Regions from separate parts of the Homo sapiens genome. Here all the other regions are linked to region 1. The links are contacts of gene promoters, found by promoter capture Hi-C in blood cells and fetal thymus (Javierre and others, 2016). All regions are on one chromosome and are shown on one strand. Each heading gives the region's core, a stretch centred on a gene start or on the middle of the fragment in contact. The rest is flanking DNA. Distances are from core to core; before and after follow the strand shown.

Region 1 (3,994 bases), core at 1,039-3,538:
GGTGGGGTAAATATTACAATTTAAAGGGGAGGGGTTATAGGGAAGTAGAATATTTTTTTCTTTTTCTTTTTTTTTCGAGACAGGGTCTTGCTGTGTCACCCAGGCCAGAGTGCAGTGGTGCCATCACAGTTCACTGCAGCCTTGACCTCCCGGGCTCAAGCAATCCTCCCACCTCAGCCACTTGAGTAGCTGAGACCTCAGATATGTGCCATCACACCCAGCTGATTTTTTAAAATTAATTTTTTGTAGAGATAGGGTCTCATATGTTGCCCATGCTGGTCTCAAACTACTGGGTTCAAATGATCCTCCTGCCTCAGCCTTCCAAAGTACTGGGATTACAGGCATGAGCCACCATGCCGGGCTGGGAGGCGGAATTTTGTTCAGTCTAAAGATAAGCTTTTTCATAGCTCTGGCTGTAGTGGGAGGGAGCAGAGGAGTGAATGATTGTCAGTTGGGAGGGTGCAGAGTGGGCTCCTGCCCTAGGGTGGAGGTGAGGGTGGCTTAGGTGAGACAACACAGAGGCCCTGTTCAGCCCCACGTCCCCTCCCTGTGCTCCCTCCTCCTCTCTCCTCTCCTGCAGGCGTGGGAGGTATCATCATTCAGCAGATTTCACCAGAGGCAGTGGAGGAGGCAGGTACCTGAGCCAGAATTCAGAATGTCTTATTCTCCACTTGACTCTGCCACTAACTTGTTGTGCAACTTTGGGCCTTTCCCCAGGCCTTCATTTTCTTTTCTTTTCTTTTTCTTTTTTTTTTTTTGAGGCGGAGTCTCGCTATGTTGCCCAGGCTGGAGTGCAGTGGTGCAGCATCATCTCGGCTCACTGCAAGCTCCACCTTCTGAGTTCACGCCATTCTACTGCCTCAGCCTCCCGAGTAGCCGGGACTGCAGGCGCCCACCACCACGCCCGGCTTATTTTTTGTATTTTTAGTAGAGACAGGGTTTCACCACGTTAGCCAAGATGGTCTCGATCTCCTGACCTCGTGATCCACCCGCCTGGGCTTCCCAAAGTGCTGGGATTACAGGCGTGAGCCACTGCGCCCGGCCATTTTCTTAAATATCTAATAAAAAATATATAGCAAATGCAGTTTGTAAACTATGACAATATGACCACGCAAAAGATTATTATCTTCCAAGACTGCTGGTCCAAGGAAAGGTCAGTAATAAAGTGGAAGCATTGTAGCTTATGGAATGACTGGTTAGATTTGGGAGAAGCCTTAGCAATAATCTAGAATCTGCATAGATAATACATCTGAGGATTGGGCTTTGTGGTTTACAAAGCATTTTTTTTCCTCTTTTGATCCCAGCCGCTTGTCTGGACTGATACAAAGCATTTTTATTAGTTTGTCTTATTCAATCCTCACACCACCTCAAATTTACAGAGGATATGGATCTGGTTAACTTGTATGACTATGTAACCTCATGTCAGTCCACAGCACTGCCTGGAGGTGGGTAGAGGTGGTCCTGGGCTGGAATCCCAGCCCCAGTGGGACCTTGAGCAAGTTACTTTAGCTGTCTGCACCTAAATTTCCTCACTGGCAAAACAGGAATACTGGTGGTTCACACCTGCAATTCCAGCACTTTGGGAGGCTGAGGTGGGAGGATTGCTTGAGTCCAGAAGTTCAAAACCAGACTGGGCAACATAGCAAGACCATCTCTACAAAAATTAAATAAATAAAACATTTACAAGGGTTGTGGTGAAGATTAAATGAGATCACTCACGAAAAAGCTCAGCAGACCCTGATGTGCAGTAGGTGCTCAATAAATGTTAGCCAGCAAAAAACAAACAAAAAAAAACTCAGCTAGGAAATTGCAGTACTGGGCTTCTGACTCCAACCTCAGTGTTCCTTGCCCCACATCAAGCTGTTTCACTTCAAATCCTCTCCATTTCACAATGGAGTCACCCCAGGTTGAAGGAGTGAACTGTGCTTTGGAGGGCTGCCCTAAGCAGGCAGCAAAGAGACAGCTTGGTCTCCAGTGACCTGAAAGAATTATTTATTGCCCTGAAGTCCAGTATACCAGTTGCCAAAGGGAAAAGCTTCCTTCCAACTGGCTCAGCAAGCTGACAGAGGAAGAGTCGGGTTCTTGCTGGGGCAGTCATGCAGAGCTGGGATGACAAGTAGAAGGCTGGCAGATCTGTCTCTGGGCAGATGGATCACCTGATACAGATGCTGGGGCCTGAGCCCTGGGATTGGCCCAAAACAGGGCTGTGTTGACCCAACAGCTGGGCATTGGCATCCTGTCAATCTGCCGAGAGCCTAGAAATAGTGCGGGGGCAGTCTGCTGGTCTCATTGTGTCAGAGGAAGCAACCATGCAGGTGCTAACCAAGCGTTACCCCAAGAACTGCCTGCTGACCGTCATGGACCGGTATGCAGCCGAGGTGCACAACATGGAGCAGGTGGTGATGATCCCCAGCCTTCTGCGGGACGTGCAGCTGAGTGGGCCTGGGGGCCAGGCCCAGGCTGAGGCCCCTGATCTCTACACCTACTTCACCATGCTCAAGGCCATCTGTGTGGATGTGGACCATGGGCTGCTGCCGCGGGAGGAGTGGCAGGCCAAGGTGGCAGGCAGCGAAGAGAATGGAACCGCAGAGACAGAGGAAGTCGAGGACGAGAGTGCCTCAGGAGAGCTGGACCTGGAAGCCCAGTTCCACCTGCACTTCTCCAGCCTCCATCACATCCTCATGCACCTCACCGAGAAAGCCCAGGAGGTGACAAGGAAATACCAGGAAATGACGGGACAAGTTTGGTAGACCTTGGACACTAGGGAAGGTAATGGTGGCCATGCTGGTGGGTGTGAGTCTACAAAGGGACATTCCAGGAGAGGAGAGGGGGCAGTGGTGCAACCCACTGGGAGAGGAACAGCCTGACTTTCAGACAGAGCCACTCTTGGGTCAGGGTATTGGGACCACAACCTAGGAGGGCCTAAGACTAGGCCTGTGTTACTATCCTTCTGACCTCAAATTGGCAATTGCAATGAAGTGATATGGAAACAGAGGGAAAAGTGGCCTGTGAGGGCATATCTCATATGCACATATATGTGTTTGTGCATGTGTGCATTTATTAGTATGTGAATGCTTGTAAATGTGTGAATTGAATGAGTGTGTTCTCATCAGTGACTTTGTTAAGAATTTAATTGAAGAGGGGCCAGGCGCGGTGGCTCACACCAAAGCACTTTGGGAGGCCGAGGCGGGCGGATCATGAGGCCAGGAGATTGAGACCATCCTGGCTAACATGGTGAAACCCAATCTCTACTAAAAATACAAAAAATTAGCTGGGCGTGGTGGTGGGTGCCTGTAGTCCCAGCTACTCGGGAGGCTGAGGCAGGAGAATGGCATGAACCTGGGAGGCAGAGGTTGCAGTGAGCTGAGATTGTGCCACTGCACTCCAGCCTAGGTGACAGAGGGAGACTCCATCTCAAAAAAAAAAAAAAAACTTACCTAAGGCATGCACATTGATTTAAGTGAACATTGTGAATTCCATTTGTGTGACAGTGTTTCCCAACATTTTTTCAAGTCACAGAACATGGAAAATTATTATATGGCACATGGGGATACATAGGTGAGGCTGCTTGCAGTACTGCTACAACAGGCTGGGGGTACTCTGACCATCCCAGGTTGGAACCCACCAAACGGGAAGCCGAGGGACCAGTCATGGCACTCTAATCCATTCCAGGCAAACTGGAGTATGCAGACATGCCTGTTGGGAAGCCCTGTTGTATGTACATATGAATATGTGTTCCAGTCTAAGCCTACATGTCTATGCACAGAGGGGCTGGGGTGGTGAGTGTGGATGAGCAGCAAGCTAGACAAGCAGGTGGTGGCAGAGGGTAGGAGGTGGGAAGGGGCCCTAGCATGGTCACCACTAGTTCACTCATGGATAAAGACTAGTATTAATAGAAATTGGACCACAGCACCTGCCAGTTTTGATTCTGTGCCACCTGCCAGCCCTGCTCCCACAAACTGGTCTCATTAGTTGTAAACAACATCCACGTCCA
Region 2 (3,994 bases), core at 511-3,010, 300 kb before region 1:
AATAGCCATCCTGTTAGGTATAAAGTGGTATTTTACGGTTTTGAATCACATTTCCCCAAGGACAAATGATGATGAACTTCTTCTCATATGCTTTTTGATCTTTGTGTATCTTCTTTGAAGAAATGTCTATTAAAAATTTTGCCATTTGGGTTGTCTTTATGTTGTTGAGTTTTAGGAGCTCCTTATATGTATTCCAAATATTAAATGCTTATCAGTTATATGATTTGCAATACGTGCAATTTGCAATATAACTTCTTCCATTCTGTAGGCTGTCTTTTCACTTTCTTCATAATGTCCTTTGATGTACAAATGTTTTAAAATTTGACAAAGTCTAACTAATCTATTTTTTATGTTGTTGCTCAGTCTTCTGGTTTTCTATCTAAGAATCCATTGCCAGATCCAAGGTCATGAAGATTTCCCTTTATTTTTTTCTAAGAGTTTCATGATTTAGCCCTTATATTTAGGTTGTTGATCTATTTTCAGTGAATTTTTCTATATGATATGAAACAGTGTATCCACTGTATTTTGCAAGCTGTCATAGTTCAACAAATAAGTATTTTATACTATAGGCAACAGTCAAAAGATATTTGTAAAATACCACAAACCAGGTGCAGTGGCTCACACCTGTAATCCCAACACTTTGGGAGGCCAAGGCAGGAGGATCACTTGAGCCCAGGAGTTTGAGATCGGCCTGGGCAATGTGGCGAGATGCCACCTCTACAAAAAATAAAAAATTTTAGCTTGGCATTGTAAAAGTTTTATGAAAATGCTAAGGCTGGGCGTAGCGGCTCACACCTGTAATCCCAGCATTTTGGGAGGCCAAGGCGGGCAGATCACGAGGTCAAGAGATCTCTCGAGACCATCCTGCCCAACATGGTGAAACCCCGTCTTTACTAAAAATACAAAAATTAGCCAGGCATGGTGGCGTGTGCCTGTAATCCCAACTACTCAGGAGGCTGAGGCAGGAGAATCGCTTAAATCCAGGAGGCGGAGGTTGCAGTGAGCCGAGATTGTGCCACTGCACTCACTCCAGCCTGGCGAAAAAGCAAGACTCCATCTCAAAAAGAAAAAGAAAATCCTTTGCAATATATAAAGCATTAAGCATTCATGCTCTATCAGACAAGCCTGTGTTCAATCCTTGCTTCACCATCTGGTGTCTATGTGACTTTGGGAGTAATTCACCATTCTATGATCCAGGTTGTGGTGAGAATTAAATGGTGATGCATGTTAAAAAAAAAAAAAAAAAAGCATAGCACTGAGTTTATAATAAGCTGTCAAATGTTATCTATTATCATTATTATTAAAAAGTTATAAAGAAACTGGAAACCTCATAAATTGCTATGAATACAACATAAATTGCTATGGTACAGCCGCTATGGAAAACAGTTTGGCAGGTCCTTAAAAAGTTAAACACAGAATTACCATATGACCTAACAATTCTACTCCTAGTTATATACAGGAGAGAAGTGAAAATACGTGTTCACAGAAAAACTTGTACACAAATGTCCATAGCAGCATTATTCCTAATAGACAACAAAGTGGGAAACAAGCAAATGTCCATCAACTGATGATGGATACATAAAAGATGCTATTATCCATATAATGGATGAGTATTTGGCAATAAAAAGGAATGAGATGATACATGATACAATGTACATAAACCTGGAAATCATTATACTAATACTAAGTGAAAGAAAATACAAAAGACCACATATTTTATGATTCCATTTATAAGAAATGTCCAGAGTAGGCAAATCCATACAGATGGATACAGGGGAAAAGGTGGGTGTGATTGATACTGATTGATAACAGATACAAGGCTTCTTACTGAGATGTTAGAAAAGTTCTGGAATTAGTGGTTATGTTTGCACAACATAGTGAATACACTAAAAACCAATGAACTGTACACTTCAAAATGGTGAATTTTATCTTATGTGAATTATATCTCAATAAAAAACACAAAATACTAACAATGCATATAAAAATTAAGAGTGTTAATCTTAATTTACTTTTGAGAAATACAACAGTAAAGGAACATCTAGTTCTTGTCAAAATACAACCTAATTATCAAATGACAAAAGGTGACCTTTATGATTTGTTAACAGATGACAATGGGCCTTTCTGAAATTGCTGTTTAGATCAAGGCCATCTATTGCCAAATTTATTCATTTTCAAGGGATTTCTAAACCTAATACTAGGTACTTTACTTTCAGGGTACATATGAATACGATCATCTCCTGTTGAGGGGTAGAAAAACACCCCAGAAAAGACACACTAGGTTATTTTCTTTCTTTTTTTTTTTCTGAAACGGAGTCTCGCTCTGTCACCAGGGTGGAGTGCAGTGGTGCAATCTCGGCTCACCGCGATCTCGGCTCACTGCAACCTCCGCCTCCCTGCAACTTCCGCCTCCCAGATTCAAGCGGTTCTCCTGCCTCAGCCTCCGGAGTAGCTGGGCGCTTGCCACCACGCCCAGCTAATTTTTTTTTGTATTTTCAGTAGGGACGGGGTTTCACCATGTTGGTCAGGATGGTCTCAATCTCCTGACCTTGTGATCCGCCAGCCCTGGCCTCCCAAAGTGCTGGGATTACAGGCGTGAGCCACCGCACCTGGCCACATTAGGTTATTTTCTACTTAATGACATCATCTTTCAAGTACTGAGCCCCCCAAAATACTTTCTGCTTATTCTAAGATTCGTATTTGCTTTCATTTTTTAACATTTCTTTGAAACACTTACTACATTCAATGTTACAGTATTTCTTTTTTTTTTTAAACTCCTATTTACTTAGAAATTATTCTGAGGCTAAAAGAAATCAAGTGCGATTTCTTTTAAGGGATAATTTATTAATAATTGGTTATCCCACTAGTTTTAAAGGTCTTCACATGGCTGTCTTCAGGAAAGAGGCAGGGCAGTAGAAGTAGAGGTGCAGGTACTAAATTTGTGAAGGCATGTGAAGGCAAATTGTTATTTAGCATAGTGGTATTCATTATCCATGGTCAAGGTGTCTGAAATTGCTCATTAATCAATCATTAACAACCACAGAAAATAGGGGAATTTCATGGAAGCGTAAAGGTTCACTGGCAGAGAAATTTCTTTATGACTTGCCAAGTAAAAGGAATGTGAAGAATAAGGCCAAGGCCCATCCAACAAAGCAAGAGTTAACAGGTCCTAGCAGAACTGCTAGTTTAAATTTCCATTCGGTGATTTTTTTTTTTTTTTTTTTTGAGACAGGGTCTCACTCTGTCGCCCAGGCTGGAGTGCAGTGGCACGATCTTGGCTCACTGCAGCCTCAACCTCCTCAGCTAGCTGAAGCAATACTTTCACCTCAGCCTCTTGCATAGCTGGTACTACAGGCATGCACCACCACACCCAGCTATTTTTTGTATTATTTTCTTTTCTTTTCTTTTTTTTTTTTTTTTTTTTTTGTAGAGATGGGATTTTGCCATGTTGCCCAGGCTGGTCTCGAACTCCTGAGCTCAAGCAATCTACCTGCCTCAGCCTCCCAAAGTGCTAGGATTACACATGTGAGCCACTGTGCCTAGCTGGGTTTCCTTATTTTTAGAAGGGTAATTCCGCTGTCAAAGTAAAAAGTCATCCGCCTAGATTTTTGAGGTCCTGTCTACTACGGATGAATGTACGTTAGCAAATGCAAGATACAGCACAATAACAAATGAATGCCCTTGGTTAAGCTCAGTTCCTAGACACCTCTCTCTCTTTCTCTCTCACTATCAATTATCAATAGTTGTTGATTTTACCTTCCAAATAGCTCTTACATCCACCCCCTCCTTTCCATCCCTAGTGCCAAAACCTTAATTCAGGTCTCCTTATTGCTCAGTTGGATTATCACAGTAACCTCCTGAACACATGACTGTTAGGCCTCCACTCACTGTCATTTTCTCAAGGTACTTTCTATTACAGTAGGGCTAAGCTACTGGTTATTTCCTAACAAAATTTCTGCTCATTCTATAGGTCTTAGTTCAGCTGTCTTAGGGAATT
Region 3 (3,994 bases), core at 510-3,009, 300 kb after region 1:
GATTTGCTTGAAGTCAAAGAGCTTGGATAAAGACTAGAACCTACATTCCCTAGTGTCCTTTCCACATTGCTTCTGGAATTCCTGGCCTCAAGCTATCCTCCCACCTCCGCCTCCCAAAGTACTGAGAATATAGGCATGAACCACCGCATGTGGCTCCCACATTGCTTCTCTACACTCCTTCCCCTTAGAACCATCTTTACTCCAATACAGATTCCTATCTAGGTCAATGGATTTTGACAAAAATTCAGTAAGAAATGTCTTTTAAATTGTAGCACAGTATCTATAAATACAATGAACTTAAAAGTTTCAATAAATATCCTTAACTGGACACAATACATGCTACTTTTTGTATACTATTTTACTTTGAAAATACTGGTAGCAACTCATTACCATTGATTTCATCACCTACGAATAGAGCTCAATCCCCATTTTGTAAAATGCTTATTGCTTGCAGTGGTTATTCTACCTCTAGCTTCTCACTTAATAGCCATCCCCCCAAATTCCTCTCCAAACATATTACTAACAACTATGATAGCAAATGCTGTGATAGGCCTTGAGTTTGCTATATGTGTTTAAGTTCTTCAAAAAAGCATAAACCAGGGATTTTATCAAACTTTCCTGAGAAATTTTCCCCAAACTATACATATTTACTACATATCTACTGATATCAGAAGATTCAGTAGATACAGAGTGAGATTTGGACATATGTAATGTTGGGAAAAGCTTCCCAGGTAATAGCACCTTTTTAAAAATATATATATATACGTCTATATAGTATTTTGCAAGTAGGTGGCAATGCTATGCTTGAAATACAAGGGTGGGAATGGCTGCAGTCATTTTTTTTATTTCAACAGGGTTTTGGGGAACAGGTGTTATTTGGTTACATGAATAAGATCTTTAGTGGTGACTTCTGAGATTTTAGTGTACCTGTCACCCCAAGGTGATAGCAACTTAATGATCTGAGGTCCCTTCCACTGTTATGAAACAAATATTTGTGTAGGAAAAGGAGTCTGGTAACGGACTAGACACAGACAAGAAAATGAAATCTCAGATAAGCAGAGGGACTTAAGTGTGATTAAAAAGCCACCAGTAAGGCAGGCATTAGAATCCAGCTCACCTGATTGCCAGTCCATTTCAGAAAGTTCCCACTAGGAAAATGAAGTCTCCCTATCAGTGTCCCTTCTCCTTCTGCAGTGACCTTTTCTTTATCAGAAACTCCCCAGGGCACCTTGGCTTACTAAATGCTAATTAGATTTCCTCCACCTGCTCTGGGATTTAGAGGGCAGTGCTAATGCAGCGCCCTCCTCAACTAACAAAGCCACTGGCATTCCTGGTATGCAGGGGCTGGCCTCCAGTTTAGTCAACATCAATTAAAGGGCTCCTATCCAAAGCCCTAAGGAGGAAGACAGAAAAGGGAGGGGTATTCCTTGATCCAAAAAATGAAGTACAGTCACTGATTGGGATTGATTGTTACTGTGGAGCTGGGTGGGACCAGGGAAAATTCTGGGAGGTAGGAATGGAATCTGGGTGAGGCAAGCAAACTGATGACCATTCATCATCTTCTCACTCCCCCAAGGAATGCTATTGTTGAGCTTGAGGGGATGAAGCCTTGGATCGCAAAAAGCCTTCATCCAAAAATAACTTAAGAAACACTTCCCTTTCTCTTCTTGTTTCAATACACAGGTCCAAATTCCGCAGTCCAGAATGACAAGTCCTCCATAATTCTATCCCGCTCTATGGAGGCATCAGAATTTCGTGAATATTCAGCCACTAACTGGCAAAGTTCAGCCTGGATGTTCAGCCATTAACTGCTGTGTAATTATGGACCAGTTACAGTTTTCTCTGGGCTTTGATTTTTCTCATTTGCAGCACTCAGTTGATTTCAAAATTAAATAAGACAATGAATATACATATGTTTTATAAACTATAAGGTGGTGTAGAGTTCTAATACAACTCCTAACACAAACTCAATTCAATGCAAACATTTACTGAGTTCCTAGAATAGTGTTTATACAGAGTTGGCACACAAACATTATCAAGTATTAGCTGTTAGATGCACAAAAACCATACCGAGTTCTTAATGATAGGGAAATCACAGTCCAGTGTAGGAGACAAGCTCTTTAACATAATATGATGAGTACTAAAATAGGCTGGGCACAGTGGCTCACGCCTGTAATCCCAGCACTTTGGGAGGCCGAGGCAGGTGGATCACCTGAGGTCAGGAGTTCAAGGCCAGCCTGGCCAACATGGCGAAATTAGATTTCCGTCTCTACTAAAAATACAAAAATTAGCCAGGTACAGTGGTGCATGTCTGTAGTCCCAGCTACTTGGGAGGCTGAGGCAGGAGAATTGCTTGAACCCAGGAGGTGGAGGTTGCAGTAAACTGAGATCACACCACTGTATTCCAGGCTGGGCGACAGAGCAAGACTCCATCTCAAAAAAAAAAAAAAAAAAAAAAAAGATGAGTACTAAAATAGAATATGCACAAAGTGAGGATGGGGGGTTAATTTACCCTGCTACCAAAGAGCAGGGGTTAAGGATTATCAAAAACCTTCTATATTCACTATATTTTCTCCAAGCCCTATCCCCAATTACATTCTATTCCCCATCCAGACTATGATGGCGAATAGAATGTAATTGGGGATAGGGCTTGGAGAAAATATAGTGGAGAAGCAACTCAAATGGTTGCTTCTCAAATGATCCTCCAGAACAACATATTCATTAGAATCTCCCCATCTTTATTCACAAAGTTACATGAGAAATTTTAAAAACCCACTAACCATCCAAGGAGTATTTAAGCTTCCATTATGTGCAAGGTATTCTTAAGGATGCAAAAAAATACAAGACAGGTCCCTGAACCCAATGAATTTACCATCTAGCAAGGGAGATAAGTCATATACAAAATTATGATACTAAGGTATATTCCTGAGCCATACAGTATCTCAGGGGTAAAGGGGAACATAGCTCAAATATCTGGAGGAGCTCCAAATTGAAAACTTCTGTTTTCTTTTCCCCCATCAACTTGGACCAAGAGTCACAAATACATTCTTCCTCCATCTAGCAATATCCTTTAACCTACTTTGTGCCAGACAACATTCTGGTCATGAGAAAAAAGCAATGAACAAAACAGACAAAAATCCTGCCTTCGAAGGGCATATGGTCTGGAAGTGTAAAGGGTCAGGTAGGTACATATATGAGTGACTGGTGTGTGCATGTATGTGTGCGTGCGTGCATGTGATACAGCAGACTAGAAAGCATATGCTTTGGCTTAAATGGAAAGCTACCACCCAGTTCCAGCTAATTGCTGCTAGGCAGAAATTTGGGCCCAGTGTTCCCAGATCTGGAAGCTGGACATTTTACGGATTTTATGTAAGAGATCTCAGCTTTTAACAATCTACGACTAATTAAAAGTGTTTAAAACACTGCAGGCCAAGCAAAACACTTTATAGATGGAATTCAGGCTAAAGATACCAGTCTATAATCTGTCTTAGAACATGTATCATGATTTTTGGCTTAGAGATGCAGTCACTTCATATAGTGTTATAAACCAAGTGCTACTGGGCTGCAGGCAGAAGATCCAGCCTCTCAGCCAGTATTAAGGAGGTGAGAGCATTTAGCCTGAGCTCCTTCAGAAAACATCTCAGAATATGTCAGTGCTTAATTTTCTTTTTCTTTTTTTTTTTTTTTTTTTTTGAGACGGAGTCTTGCTCTTCCCCCCAGGCAGTGGCGCTATCTCTGCTCACTGCAAGCTCCGCCTCCCGGATTCACGCCATTCTCCTGCCTCAGCCTCCCGAGTAGCTGGGACTACCGGCACCCGCCACTGCGCCCGGCTAATTTTTTGTATTTTTAGTAGAGACGGGGTTTCACCGTGTTAGCCAAGATGGTCTCAATCTCCTGACCTCGTGATCCGCCCGCCTCGGCCTCCCAAAGTGCTGGGATTACAGGCGTGAGCCACTGCGCCCGGCTGTCAGTGCTTAATTTTCTATTCTTTGTT
Region 4 (3,994 bases), core at 849-3,348, 280 kb before region 1:
GTCGTACTTTAGGTTTGTTGAGATTATTGGGTTTGTGGGTTTATAATTTTCATCAAATTTGAAATTTTGCATTCATTATTCTTCCAATATTCTTGGCTCCATCCTCCTTCTAGGATCTCAAATACACTTTATGGAGGCTGCTTGATACTATTCCACAGACCAGTGAAGCACTTGATTATTTTCAGTTCTCTTTCTCACTGCTTCATTTTAGGATAAAGTCTACTGACATGTCTTCAAGTTCACTAGTTTGTTCTGCAGCATCCAATCTTCTGTGAAATGCCTTTCAGTAATTTATTTAAGATACTATTATTTTTTTAATCTCTAGAAGTTCTATATGTTTATTTTTCTTATCTTTCATTTCTTTCATTATGTTCATATTTTTCTTTAAATACTTTTACTAATTATAATACTTATTTTACTGTCCTTGTCTGCTAGATCTAGTATCTCCATCATTTCTGAATCTGCTTCTTTGGGTTCATTTTTCTCCTGGTTAAGAGTTAGACCAGTTTCTCAGCACAGCTAGTAATTTGAGCCATATTGAGTAAATTAAGCTTGGATGTTGGAAAATATCAATGTTACCATGCTGCTAAGCGCTGCTAAGATGTGCTGTTAAGATTTTGCAATGTGCTGTAAAAATCAGTTGGGCTTTGTTTTGGCAGGTATTTATTTGCAGATTCATCTTATCTTTTTAAGGCCTTTTCTGTCAGGTTTACTACAATGAATCAATTGGGTTCTCCATTGAATGCCCTGAGTGCTACAAAGAATATTTCACTCTGGTCAGAGTTCAAACATCTCCAGTGTAAGTTCTAGGAAATGTTTGGCTAGTAATAACCTGGATGTTCAGTGCCTAGCGTTGTGGATTTTCACTGTTTGCATATACGACCTAGTCTTCAGCAAAGACTCAAGGTAGCCCATGTACAGATTTCTGAAATTCTGTCTTCTGCATAGCCCTCTTCTTTTCAGAACCTGGCCCTGCAACTTCTAGCTGCCTAAGCCTCTTGAAATCCAATCTTTGCCTCCTCAACTGAGTGAAGCTGCCAGACTCATTAGATTCTCTCTCTCTGTTTCTGCGGTCCTAAAGCTGCTTCCAGGCAGGAAACCCTGGTAGTGGTATAGGGCTCACTTCTTTTATTTCACCCATCACCCAGGGAAAACAATCCTGATTTGCCTTAGTACAATATCTAAAAAGAGATGGTTCATGTATCTTGATCCAGTTTACTAGCTGTTTATGACAAGTGGGTAAAAGCCCCTTATTACTCCATCATGTCCAGAGAGAATTCTCAATTTTTAAAGCAACATTGGCTGGGCACAGTGGCTCATGCCTGTAATCCCAACACTTTGGGAGGCTGAGGTGGGTGGATCACCTGAGATCAGGAGTTTGAGACCAGCCTCGCCAACATGGTGAAACTGTGTCTCTACTAAAAATACAAAAATTAGCCAGCCGTGGTGGCATACACCTGTAATCCCAGCTACTTAGGAGGCTGAGGCAGGAGAATTGCTTGAACCTGGGAGGCGGAGGTTGCAGTGAGCCGAGCTCATGCCATTGCACTCCAGCCCAGGCAACAAGAGCGAAACTCCATCTCAAAAAAAAAAGAAAAGCAACATTAAAGAATTAAAGATGTGTACTTGAGCAGATGATATGAATTTTTAAAAGAGCAAATTGGACAGGCACAGTGGCTTACGCCTGTAATCCCAGCACTCTGGGAGGCCGAGGCAGGTGGATCACGGTGAAACCCCGTCTCTACTGAAAAAAAAAAAATACAAAAAAATTAGCCTGGCATGGCGGCGGGCACCTGTAGTCCCAGCTACTCGGGAGGCTGAGGCAGGAGAATGGCGTGAACCTGGGAGGCAGAGCTTGCAGCGAGCCGAGATCGCGCCACTGCACTCCAACCTGGGCGACAGAGTGAGATTCTGTCTCAAAAAAAAAAAAAAAAAAAAAAAAAAAAAGAATTATACGTAGATCTATTTGTTAAACATGAACTATGAACTCTAAAAAGAAACATCTGCATATCATATCGTATAGTGGATTTTAACATTTCCATAAGGCAAAAGATCCTTAAAACTTTATAGGAGGATATTACTGTCTCCATTATGAAGAAACTCTGAAGTTAATAAATTGCCAGGTCACACAAATATCAAGTGGCAAGGCTAAGATTTCAACCCAGCTAATACTAAAAATCCTGACATTTACTACGTACCATCATGCTTCCCATTAATTTATCCCCACAAATACTATGTATATTAAGAGATTTAGTCTACCAAACTGAATTTATTAAAGTATCCTATGTTGTGCTTAGCAAGATTATTGTTAACTTATCATTCAGAATATCTGATCAGCACGCGAATAAAAAATTACCCAATTTTGGTAAATAAATGTATTATTTATTTAAATTTAAAATTGGCATTTAAAAATATTTAAAATGGCTGGAGCCTTGGACACCTTTTCACTCAAGCCAGGAGTACCCCAAGGAACACATATATTTCCTATTTCATATAGTTCAACATTATATTATGATCTGTTGTTGAGACCACTAGAATGTATGTTCCATTAAAGTTTTAGTCACAAGGTTTAGAGAAGGGGTTAGCATACAGTAGACACTCAATATACAGTGGGGAATAAAAGATCCCCATAATTTTAATTCTCCTAAAACTATAATGGTGGAGGCATATTACATCAAGATGGTGGGCTCACCCTCCTGCCCAAATCTCTTAAAATACAGTAAAAAAGAAAAAAAAGTACTGTTCTTGTGTTTCCAACAAATATGGAGTAATAAGGACAAAGTTTACCTGACTGAAACAACTAAACGACAACAAAAATATATGAAACTAGACACTCAAGACATTATACGAGTAACAAAAGACTATGAATAGTGATACATGAGAGATGCAAAACAGAGATAAACCCTATAACTACCCCAATTTACAAACTGGGTAAAGAGGCAAACAGGGAGGATCAATCAAAAACCTGGCAATCTCCCTTAGAGAGATGAGGTTAAGAGTCAAGAAGGCAAAGGTAGAATTAACAGAGAAAAGTGTCAGAGAAGAGAGCTGCAGAGAGTACTCTGGAAATTTGCAGAGTCCCTCTGAGTCTTTAGCAAAGGACTGAGCAGGGCATGTACCCGGGGAAATTACCCAAGGTCAGGGATAGAACTGCTCCAAAGAAATAAAGGGAATAGCACCCAACACCCACACAGGTCTATGAACAAGGCCTGCCCCCCAACAGCAAGAATGGAAAAGCTCATCTTTTGGCTAACACTGGTTAAAGCAACAGGGGGTCAGCAAATTATATCCTACAGATCAAATGTGGTTCAGCACCTATTTTTGTATAGCCCAAGAACTAAGAATGACTTTTACATTATTAAATGGCTGAAAAAGGTAAAAAAAAGAACATTTCATGACAATTTAAAACTACATAAAATTTAAATTATAGTATCTAAAAATAAAGTTCACAACCATGTTTATTCATTTAAATACCATTTATGGTTGCTTTTACACTACAGTAGAAGAGAGAGATAGCTGACACACAAACTGTAGAGCCCACAAAGCCTAAAATACGTACTATCTGGGTCTTTACAGAAAAATAGGTCTTGCCTTAATATGAAAAAAATAAAAACTAGACTAAACGCATATCCAGTCCCACTTAACAAAGCTTAAAAATCAAGATGCTAAATAATCAATCTCTTTCCAATCAACTTAATCATAATGCAGAACAAATATCAAGAATATCATAGGAATATAAAAATATCCAGCATCTAGCATAGTAAAATTCAGAGTTTAGTATCTACTAAAAACTTACCAGGCATTGCTAATGTACCTTCAGAACAGTAAAAAAAAAAAAAAGTTCGAGTGCTGTGACTCACACCTGTAATCCCAGCACTATGGGAGGCCTAGACAGGCAACTGCTTGAGTCCAGGAGTTTGAGACGAGTCTGGGCAACACAGTGAAACCCCGTCTCTACTAAAAATACAAAAAAATACAAAAAATATTTGTCAGG

The links. Contacts are between HindIII fragments. The CHiCAGO score rates a contact against its expected background, and 5 or more counts as called.
Region 2: a contact is called between a fragment that was not itself captured here and the fragment with the promoter of THRSP in region 1, in 3 of 17 cell types (erythroblasts, megakaryocytes and total CD4 T cells). The highest score is 7.2, in erythroblasts.
Region 3: a contact is called between a fragment that was not itself captured here and the fragment with the promoter of THRSP in region 1, in 2 of 17 cell types (activated CD4 T cells and non-activated CD4 T cells). The highest score is 6.6, in activated CD4 T cells.
Region 4: a contact is called between a fragment that was not itself captured here and the fragment with the promoter of THRSP in region 1, in 5 of 17 cell types (erythroblasts, endothelial precursors, naive CD4 T cells and 2 more). The highest score is 8.1, in erythroblasts.

The regions. Positions count from the first base shown.
Region 1 is chr11:78,061,573-78,065,566 of GRCh38, forward strand. It overlaps THRSP (thyroid hormone responsive), which reads left to right and starts at 2,289. Exons shown (of 2, transcript NM_003251.4): 1 at 2,289-2,769. The coding sequence starts at 2,310. The coding sequence ends at 2,750. The region is part of intron 1 of NDUFC2-KCTD14 (NDUFC2-KCTD14 readthrough); the gene reads right to left. The HindIII fragment of the contact is 4,485 bases long and covers 2,034-3,994 here.
Region 2 is chr11:77,758,627-77,762,620 of GRCh38, forward strand. All of the region lies in intron 2 of RSF1 (remodeling and spacing factor 1), which reads right to left. Among named protein-coding and RNA genes, the nearest start is that of RSF1-IT1, 21 kb to the left of the region's middle. The HindIII fragment of the contact is 5,162 bases long and covers 1-3,994 here.
Region 3 is chr11:78,364,150-78,368,143 of GRCh38, forward strand. All of the region lies in intron 1 of GAB2 (GRB2 associated binding protein 2), which reads right to left. Among named protein-coding and RNA genes, the nearest start is that of GAB2, 52 kb to the right of the region's middle. RefSeq lists an enhancer at 967-1,879. The HindIII fragment of the contact is 2,076 bases long and covers 722-2,797 here.
Region 4 is chr11:77,784,008-77,788,001 of GRCh38, forward strand. The region is part of intron 1 of RSF1 (remodeling and spacing factor 1); the gene reads right to left. It also overlaps the pseudogene LOC124902804. Among named protein-coding and RNA genes, the nearest start is that of RSF1, 35 kb to the right of the region's middle. The HindIII fragment of the contact is 3,098 bases long and covers 550-3,647 here.